3 separate regions of the Homo sapiens genome follow, and regions 1 and 3 are each linked to region 2. Evidence: promoter capture Hi-C in 16 types of primary human blood cells and fetal thymus (Javierre and others, 2016). All regions are on one chromosome and are shown on one strand. The core of a region is centred on a gene start or on the middle of the fragment in contact, and the rest is flanking DNA. Distances in the headings are between cores, read along the strand shown. Region 1 has its middle 2.9 kb from the start of FAM89A. Region 2 holds the start of COG2 (component of oligomeric golgi complex 2). Region 3 overlaps TTC13 (tetratricopeptide repeat domain 13).

Region 1 (2,700 bases), core at 26-2,525, 400 kb before region 2:
CAACAAATTACATTGAACAGTATGTCCATTTATATATATATTTGCTATCACTAGGTGCCCAGCATTGTGCTATAGCAAAGAAAGTATCATCCTTGTCTCTGGCCAAATAAAAAATATTGTTGAAGTGACAAGGCAACAATTTAAAAACTATATAAAGGACTCTATGATTAAATGCCAAGTTTCCCATTTATATGTACACATAGTTGCATACAAAAATCTTTAAGAGGCATTATATAACCTTTAAAATTTACAATTTGTTTTAGAAATGATTGAAATATAAGAAATTATGTCTTGAAATAAACACATTTGCTAAAATGTAGCCCAAATTCATTGCACAGTTGCTTTCAAAGTAATCTAGTTTTAGGTTCTGCAACAAATGAAAAATGGCAAGATAAACTTCTCTATAGTTAGCGGCATTTAAAGTCATCAGCTTGAAAAGGCAAGCTCAGTTGGACTTCTGGTGTCTTTTTCAGGTTCTTTCTAGTCTATTAACAACCTAAGTTATTAAACTTGAGAATGATAAAAAAAAACAAAAATAAATAAAACGCACAAAAAGACTCTTTAGAGTTCCCAAAAGCAAACAACAAGTGGGCAGAGATTAGAGGTGGGGAGGAACCTAGTGGCTGGGTTAATGGAAGGTCAGGATGGAGGCACATGAGAATAATCTCTAAGTAAATGCCTGGATACTGGTGACTCTGAGGCTTGTGCTCCAAGGCCCAGGTCCCTAACCTTGATTGACAAAGTCTAAGAAAAGATGTGGGTTAATGAATAGAGCACTGGATTAGAAGTTTGTGTTTTCTGATTTCCAAGAGCCTGTGAACAACAAAACAAAACAGAAAAGACTAATTCAGCTGCATGGGTGATGATGAAGACTCACTCTGATTTGAACTCAGAATACAGATGTTTTGCTATGGTCTGAATGTATGTGCCCCCTGCCAGCCCCAAATTCATATGTTGAAACCTAACCCCCATGTGGTGGTATTGAAGTGAGATCTTTGGGAGGTGTCTAGGTCATGAAGGTGAAGCCCTTGTAAATGGAATCAGTGCCCTTGTAAAAGAGGCTTGAGGGCGCTCCCTGGCCCCTTCTGCAATGTGAGGACACCCAGAAGGTGAAATCTATGAGGAATGAGCTCTCAGCACACACGTCAGCTGGTGCCTTGATCTTGGACTTCCAGCCTCCAAAACTGTGAGCAATACATTTCTGTTCTTTACACATTATCCAGTCTCAGGTATTTTGTTATAGCAGCCTAAATGGACTAAGGTAATGTTTCAGTGGCTTAATGCAAAAAAACACACTGTCAGAAGTTATTTACTACTTCTCTCTCATTATAAGCATGAACTTTAAAAGGTACTTTATATTGGCATTTGAATAAACAGACACTAACATTCCCCAAGGATGTCAAAATATTTGTTATATAATAGTTTCAGGCTTGTACAAATAATGTCTTCACCAGCACCACAGAAATTCTGTAGAAACTTCTCCTTACCCTGGGATATTATTTGTTGATACTGATTTCAATACTCTTACCTCACTGAGTATAGGCCAGAACGCAGAGCCTGCCTTTAAAATGTTAAGGTTGGCCTGGCGTGGTGGCTCATGCCTGTAATCCCAGCACTTTGGGAGGCTGAGGTGGGTAGATCGTGAGGTCAGGAGTTCAAGACCAGCCTGGCCAAGATGGTGATGGGTATGGTGGCGGGTGCCTGTAATCCCAGCTACTTGGGAGGCTGAGGCGGAGAATTGCTTGAACCCGAGAGGTGGAGGTTGCAGTGAGCCAAGATCGCGCCACTGCACTCCAGCTTGGGCGACAGAGTGAGACTCCATCTCAAAAAAGAAAAAAAAAATTGGTAAGGTTGGCATTGTCTAAGTTGTGCCTCTTTTCTCGAGTCCTGACACCACGGACCTCATGCTGCTGTCTAGCTGACCCTAACCTCCTTTTCCTTCTGTAATCCGTAATTCTCTGAAGTATGTGCTTTAAAATGCTTTCAGTGCCCCGATACTTCAAAGTGATTTCTTTTCTTATTTCACCATCACATAGCTGAATCTCCTATCACCTACCTTGAGTGATTTCTGCTAGGTACTACAGGTGAGACTGCATTGTAACCAGTGAAATTAAAGAAATTCATGCAGGCTGGGCGCGATGGCTCACACCTGTAATCCCAGCACTTTGGGAGGCCGAGGTGGGTGGATCACCTGAGGTCAGGAGTTCGAGACCAGCCTGGCCAACATCGTGAAACCCCATTTCTACTAAAAATACAAAAATTAGTCGGGCGTCGTGGCACATGCCTGTAATTCCAGCTACTTGGGAGGCAGAGACAGGAGAATTGCTTGACCCAGGAGGCAGAGGTTGCAGTGAGCTGAGATCACGCCACTGCACTCTAGCTTGAGTGATAGACTGTCTCATAAAAAAAAAAAAATTCATGCTAAGGTGTGAACCGAATGTCAAAATGCTTCCCACCCCTTCCTCTCCCTTACTCCCACACAGGCAGACTGGTCACTCTCCTGAAGACACCCACCGTTTACATAAGTGAATGAATAAATACCTGACATCCAGAAATGTGACTAGGTAATTAGTAGAAGGTGAGGCACAGTGAAGAGGCGGAAAATTCTGGGCAGTGGGTGGGGTGGGAAGCCTGGGTGCTGTCAATCACACCGCCTGCACTAAAGCTTCTTCATATCAGTCTCACCCACTTGCAACCGTC
Region 2 (2,700 bases), core at 191-2,690:
CCAGCATGTACCCTTAGCTGTTTCTTTCTACCCTCATTTCAGGGTAGCTCTTAGCCAGTAGGCAAAACGAAGGGTTTCTGGATCAATGAGTTGATTCTGTACATTCTTTGAGACATCCTAATGAAGTTACACCTTTTAGTACAGTGGTCTAATAGGAATATCACTTACAAGAATAAGGTACATTATTCCTGGGTATAGATAAGTCCTACATACGAAAAATGATATGGTCACACTGGAGAAGATACAGATCTACTTTAAAAAAAAACAGCTTTGGAGATGTAATCTGAATGCAAATATTATCAAAAAGAGATAGGCTAATTAATCTAGAAAACATTATGTCACCAAGAAAGGCAGAGTAAGATTTCAACTCACTTGCTCAAAATTGTAGATGTCTACTAACCAGCTAAAACTTTTCGCTTTTTAACACTGAAAGCAGCTACTAAAAGGTGTCAAAAATCCTAGTCCTCAGGAAATTAAATAGAAACATTTTTTGAATGGCTTAAGTGCAGACCCAGAGGGATACACCAAGTAGGAGCAAAGCTCCTCCCAGCTCTCACTCAAAGCCTGGCCATTTTCAAGGCTGTGCCTGATGAACTTTATCATCAGTGAAGTGTTTTCAGTTTATATTTCTTTTCTCTAAGTTTATGACCTACAACTACCAACTTCTTCAAATGCATCACGTAAAAAGTAGAGCAACTTCTTTAAAGAGTAATGGTTTGCTTTGTCGTACTGCAATAGTCGGTAAGAATGTTCTAAGCTTCTAAATATCCCATTCTGGAAGCTTTAGCTGAATGTTAAGCAAAACTTCAGATTAAGTTCTTTTTCTTTCCGACCCGAGTCCCTAGGAAAGTACGTGGGCTTGGAGATTTATTCAACACACACTTAATGAGCTCCAAGGCCCCGGTCCACAAGCTTCTTTCCGACAAGGGGACTGGCAATCTGACTGCACTGCATGGTAACAGGAACGGGTAACAGTGGCTTTGACATGCAGCTCAAAACCACTTGCCCAGAACTTTCAGGCCTTTCCATGTAACACGCACGATTTTACAGAAGTGCTTTCTCCAGGCTGCACCCGCCAAACCTGACGCCAAAAGACTCATTGCGAAGTGCAGCGAGGTCTCGGCGGAGGACCTGACACTGAGCGTGCGCAGGCAGGAGCAGCCGACCGAAGAGACCGCCACAGAGGGCACAGGGCAGAGGCACCCTCATGGCCCGGCTCCGGGGAGCGGACGCCGCGCGCACCTTCATGAACTCGTCCTTGTCGAAGCAGAGCGTGTCCGGCCCCTTGGGCAGGTTCATCCTACTTTTCTCCATCCCGCCGGCCACCGCCTCTCAGTGCCAAGATCCAAGCGAGAAAACGCAGGAGGCTGCGCAGACCGACTCGGCGGCCGCGGCCACCGCCAGTTTCCACGGCACAGGGGGGTCCGCTTCCGCCAACATGGCAGCGCCCGCGCCGCGGCCAATGAACGACGGCACCGCAAGCCGGCCTGCGCCTGGCTCTGGCCAAGAGGGGCGCGGGGGCCGCCGCTGCTGCACGGGTAGGCCGTGCTGCCCTCATGTGGCGGAGGGCGGTACTGCAGCCTCGCGCGGGCTCCTGCAAGGCTGCCCACCTCCCTAGGAGGCGTGGCTGAGCTGCAGGGGTGGGTCAAAAGGGGTGAGCGGGTCTCCCTCCCACCCCCACCGTTTCTACTGGGAAAAATTGTCCTACAACGCTTTTCCAGTGCCTTCTACCCTGAGACTGCTCTGCTTCGTTATGCATGGCCAGAAGTTGGCCCTTTGGTTCTCAGGCCCGTTTTCCAGGTTGGACGTATCACCGTGGTCGCATTCTTCACCTCCCTGTGCGCGGTCACTGCCGCTGGTGGGCGCTAACGCCTCTATGGAGACCCCCGCCCTTAGCCTCTGTCCCCACAGAGAAGTGTAGCGTCTCCTCCACTGGGCTCCGTTACTGGGAACTCATAGGGAAGAAGGTGGTCAGCTAGGCGGCTTTGGGTCCTCTGAGTAGCTCCCTGCTCAACCTCGGTCTCCGTTCCAGGTGGGCAGCCTCTGAGCGCAACTTTGGGTCTTCAAGGTGCTTAAAGGAGTGCCTCGCTATCTGATTAAACACAGCAGACAAATACATGTGCATGCACATTTATTTTTAATTTCAACCAGGAATGGACAAATTTTTGTGTTGTGGCCAGTACTGGTGCAACCAAACCAATTTCTTAGACTGTCTTCCTCCTCCTCCCCCCACCCACCCCAATTTTATTCTGAGACGTTCTTCCTTTATCTCCTCCCTTGCTTTTTTCTCCTCTTGTCCCTTCCGCTAGCTGTAAATACCGTGGTCAAATGATGATGATTCATTTTTCTTCTTTTCTCCTTGACATTCGGATGATTCAAACCACAAACCTCACTTCACACTCTTCATTCTGCAAACCTTTCCTTCCCGCTTCTGTTGAGGAATCTAGGCCTCTCTTCCCAATTTTTCTCCTTGGAGATAAGATTAACGCCATGATGGCCTGTAAAAAGGAATGGGACAGCAGAGGGTAAGACCTCACCATGAGACTTTGTATTTCAAGTATCTCAACTAGAAAACTGGTCACTTAAAAAAAAATGTAGGCGTAGAATCCAAAACGCTCTACTCCCTAGCACTGGACCTAGCAGGCCCTGTTGAAGAGCCTATTTCCTGCCAGTATCTACAGAACAGATGAACAGGATAAG
Region 3 (2,700 bases), core at 10-2,509, 330 kb before region 2:
TTACATACCATTTAACAACAGGGTATGTTTTGAGAAATGTGTCGTTAGGCGATTTCATCATGGTGCAAACATCAAAGAGTGTACTTAGACCGAGATGGAATAGCCCATTACACACCTTGGTTGTATGGTATAGCCTATTGCTTCTAGGCTACAGACCTGTAGCATGTTACTGTACTCAATACTGTAGGCAGTTGTAACATAGTGACAAGTGTTTGTGTATCTAAATACAGAAAATGTACAGTGAAAATGTGGTATTACCGTCTGATGGGACCATTCTCACACATACGTGGTCCATCATTGGCCGAATCATTATGTGGCGCATGACTCTATATAGTAGGGCCCAGTAATACATGCCTTGAAAATAAAGCAGTGTGAGAGGATAAAGAGCAGTGTGTAGGTGCTACTTTAAGAGGTGCCCCGGGATGGCTTCTGGTAAGGAGACATTTGAGCTGAGACTTAGATAGAGTGAGATTTGGAGAGATCTTAGAAATATCTTAATTCAACACTCTGTAGATCTGCTACATTAAGGTCTTGTGAAATTTGTAACTTGTTCATTGATTTAAAAATTCAGGTTCTCTGCTCTTCTTTTTTTTTTTTTTTGAGATGGAGTATCGCCCTGTCACCCAGGCTGGAGTGCAATGGCGTGATCTCGGCTCACTGCAACCTCTGCCTCCCAGGTTCAAGTGATTCTCCTGCCTCAGCCTCCCAAGTAGCTGGAATTACAGGCGCCTGCCACCAAGCCTGACTAATTTTTTGTATTTTTAGTAGAGATGGGGTTTCACCATGTTGGCCAGGCTGGTCTCGAACTCCTGACCTCGTGATCTGCCCACCTCAGCGTCCCAAAGTGCTGGAATTACAGGCGTGAGCCACCACGCCCGGCCCCTCTGCTCTTCTTACCAAAGCTAAACTGCATCTCTTTCAAATCATGTATTAAATTATATCTTTATACTCTTTACAGACAGTATAAGGTATATTTTATGGTTCAAGCATATGCATTTCTAGAAGTTGTTTTAAAAATACTTTTGTTTTCTCCTCTCGCCTTGAAAATGTAGTAGTAACAAGAACAGTGAGTTTGTGTGAATCTTTTTTTCCAATGCCTTCAGCCTTTTTTCACTGCTCTTGAGTGATGCAGCCCTGTACTTGATGTCTTAATTTTCATTAGTTTGTTGAAATCAATGAAAGCAGAATTGCATTTATTCTATTTTCCCACAGTTCTTTATGGGAAAAGGCATTTAGAATCTGTTTGTCCAATTTGAGAATTGTGAACTGCCAGAAAAATAAGGAAGTAGCTATGAACCTAGCTCTGTGTTTTTGACAAAATTGGTAACACTGAGATTGTCCATGTATATGGTAGCTTTCTTAATTAAGGAATTGGCCATTTAAATACATGAAGTCAGTCTTTTTGCTCACAGCACATAGATCACTGCTATGCCTAGAGGTGGTAGAGAATCAATAGAAGGAAACTTATGAGAGCTATTTCCTTTTTTGCTCTATGAGGAAGTTAAGAACCACATTTTGTGCTCAGTCATAGCAATTGTGGTAACCATTACTGTGAGTGTATCTGGTCAATCCTTTCATCTCCTGGCCCTGATTTTCTGTGTTTGTCATCATACATAGTTTCATGGCAGACCTCTTCATATCTTGTTTTTCAAGGCATTCCTGAGTAAATTTGCCAGTGCAAAGTCGCTGTGCTCAGAGACTGAGGCACAGAGTGATGAAGAGATTGTGATCTTGCCACATCCTGGCCCCTGTGGCATTGCCAGAGGGTGTTTCCCTTTTGCTCACTGAACAGCATCTTTCAGCAAATCCTCTGGTTTAGAAGTAGCATTTTATAGCATAAGCCCTATGACGATGGCAGCCTATGATTCGCTTTTTCACGTATATCTGTTGTCATTAAGAATTACATCTACCTTTTAAAAGATCTACATACTGCTAAACCTGTTCAACTTCAGGTGATAAGGGTTAATTATTATTTTTTAATCTCTGGGTGGAGGCAAAAATGGTGTGACTTGGGTTTTAGAACCTACCTGGAGCATGACTGTAGGAAAGTCAAGGCTCTTCAATGTGCACCACTCAATGTACAGACAGTTTAGCTTCACTGCACTCAATATATACTTGACTGACTTTTAAACCTTCTCCCTTTCACAATGAGTTGTTTTAAAGAGGTCATTTTGTTTGGGCTCATCTTATCTTGCAGATAGAATAAATAATTTATCAAAGCGGCAGAATTTTAATACTTTGGGTGAATGCTTTCCAGCATATTCCTTTTCTTATGTTTTGGTTTTACTTTTTTATCAAAATACAACATATATACAGGAGAGTGCATATGTCCTAAGTGTAGATAGCTCAATACGTTTTCATAAGCTGAACAACTGATGTAATCAGAAAGAACCGAAATCAATAGCTGTCTGTTTTTAAGATTGCCGATAGTCTCATTCCATGCTAACCCTAGTTTCATTTGGGAAATGTTTTGTCTGATTTAGAGTCCAGCACCATGCAGTGGACTTACACTGCACATGTGCTGGCATTCTTTCCATAGACTCTCACTTAGGAATCAGTTGGTGCATCTCAGGACCACCTCTGCACAAGAAGACCAGTTGTCTTCTCTTGCAACTCTTCCCTGCTGGTGTTTGCAATGTTCTCAGTGACTCTGTGTTCCCTTGTCACTAATCTTTTCATGTCAGTGCCTAGCTCTGTTTC

What was found. Contacts are between HindIII fragments. The CHiCAGO score rates a contact against its expected background, and 5 or more counts as called.
Region 1: a contact is called between a fragment that was not itself captured here and the fragment with the promoter of COG2 in region 2, in 1 of 17 cell types (total CD8 T cells). The highest score is 5.2, in total CD8 T cells.
Region 3: a fragment that was not itself captured here is called in contact with the fragment with the promoter of COG2 in region 2 in 2 of 17 cell types (naive CD4 T cells and total CD8 T cells); the score reaches 7.0 in naive CD4 T cells.

Annotation. Positions count from the first base shown.
Region 1 is chr1:231,041,827-231,044,526 of GRCh38, reverse strand. No RefSeq gene overlaps it. Among named protein-coding and RNA genes, the nearest start is that of FAM89A, 2.9 kb to the right of the region's middle. The HindIII fragment of the contact is 2,784 bases long and covers 1-2,667 here.
Region 2 is chr1:230,641,221-230,643,920 of GRCh38, reverse strand. It overlaps COG2 (component of oligomeric golgi complex 2), which reads right to left and starts at 1,440. Exons shown (of 18, transcript NM_007357.3): 1 at 1,243-1,440. The coding sequence starts at 1,314. RefSeq lists an enhancer at 1,197-1,416 and a silencer at 1,507-1,646. The HindIII fragment of the contact is 12,366 bases long and covers 915-2,700 here.
Region 3 is chr1:230,971,977-230,974,676 of GRCh38, reverse strand. All of the region lies in intron 1 of TTC13 (tetratricopeptide repeat domain 13), which reads left to right. Among named protein-coding and RNA genes, the nearest start is that of TTC13, 5.5 kb to the left of the region's middle. RefSeq lists an enhancer at 1,577-1,816. The HindIII fragment of the contact is 2,997 bases long and covers 1-2,700 here.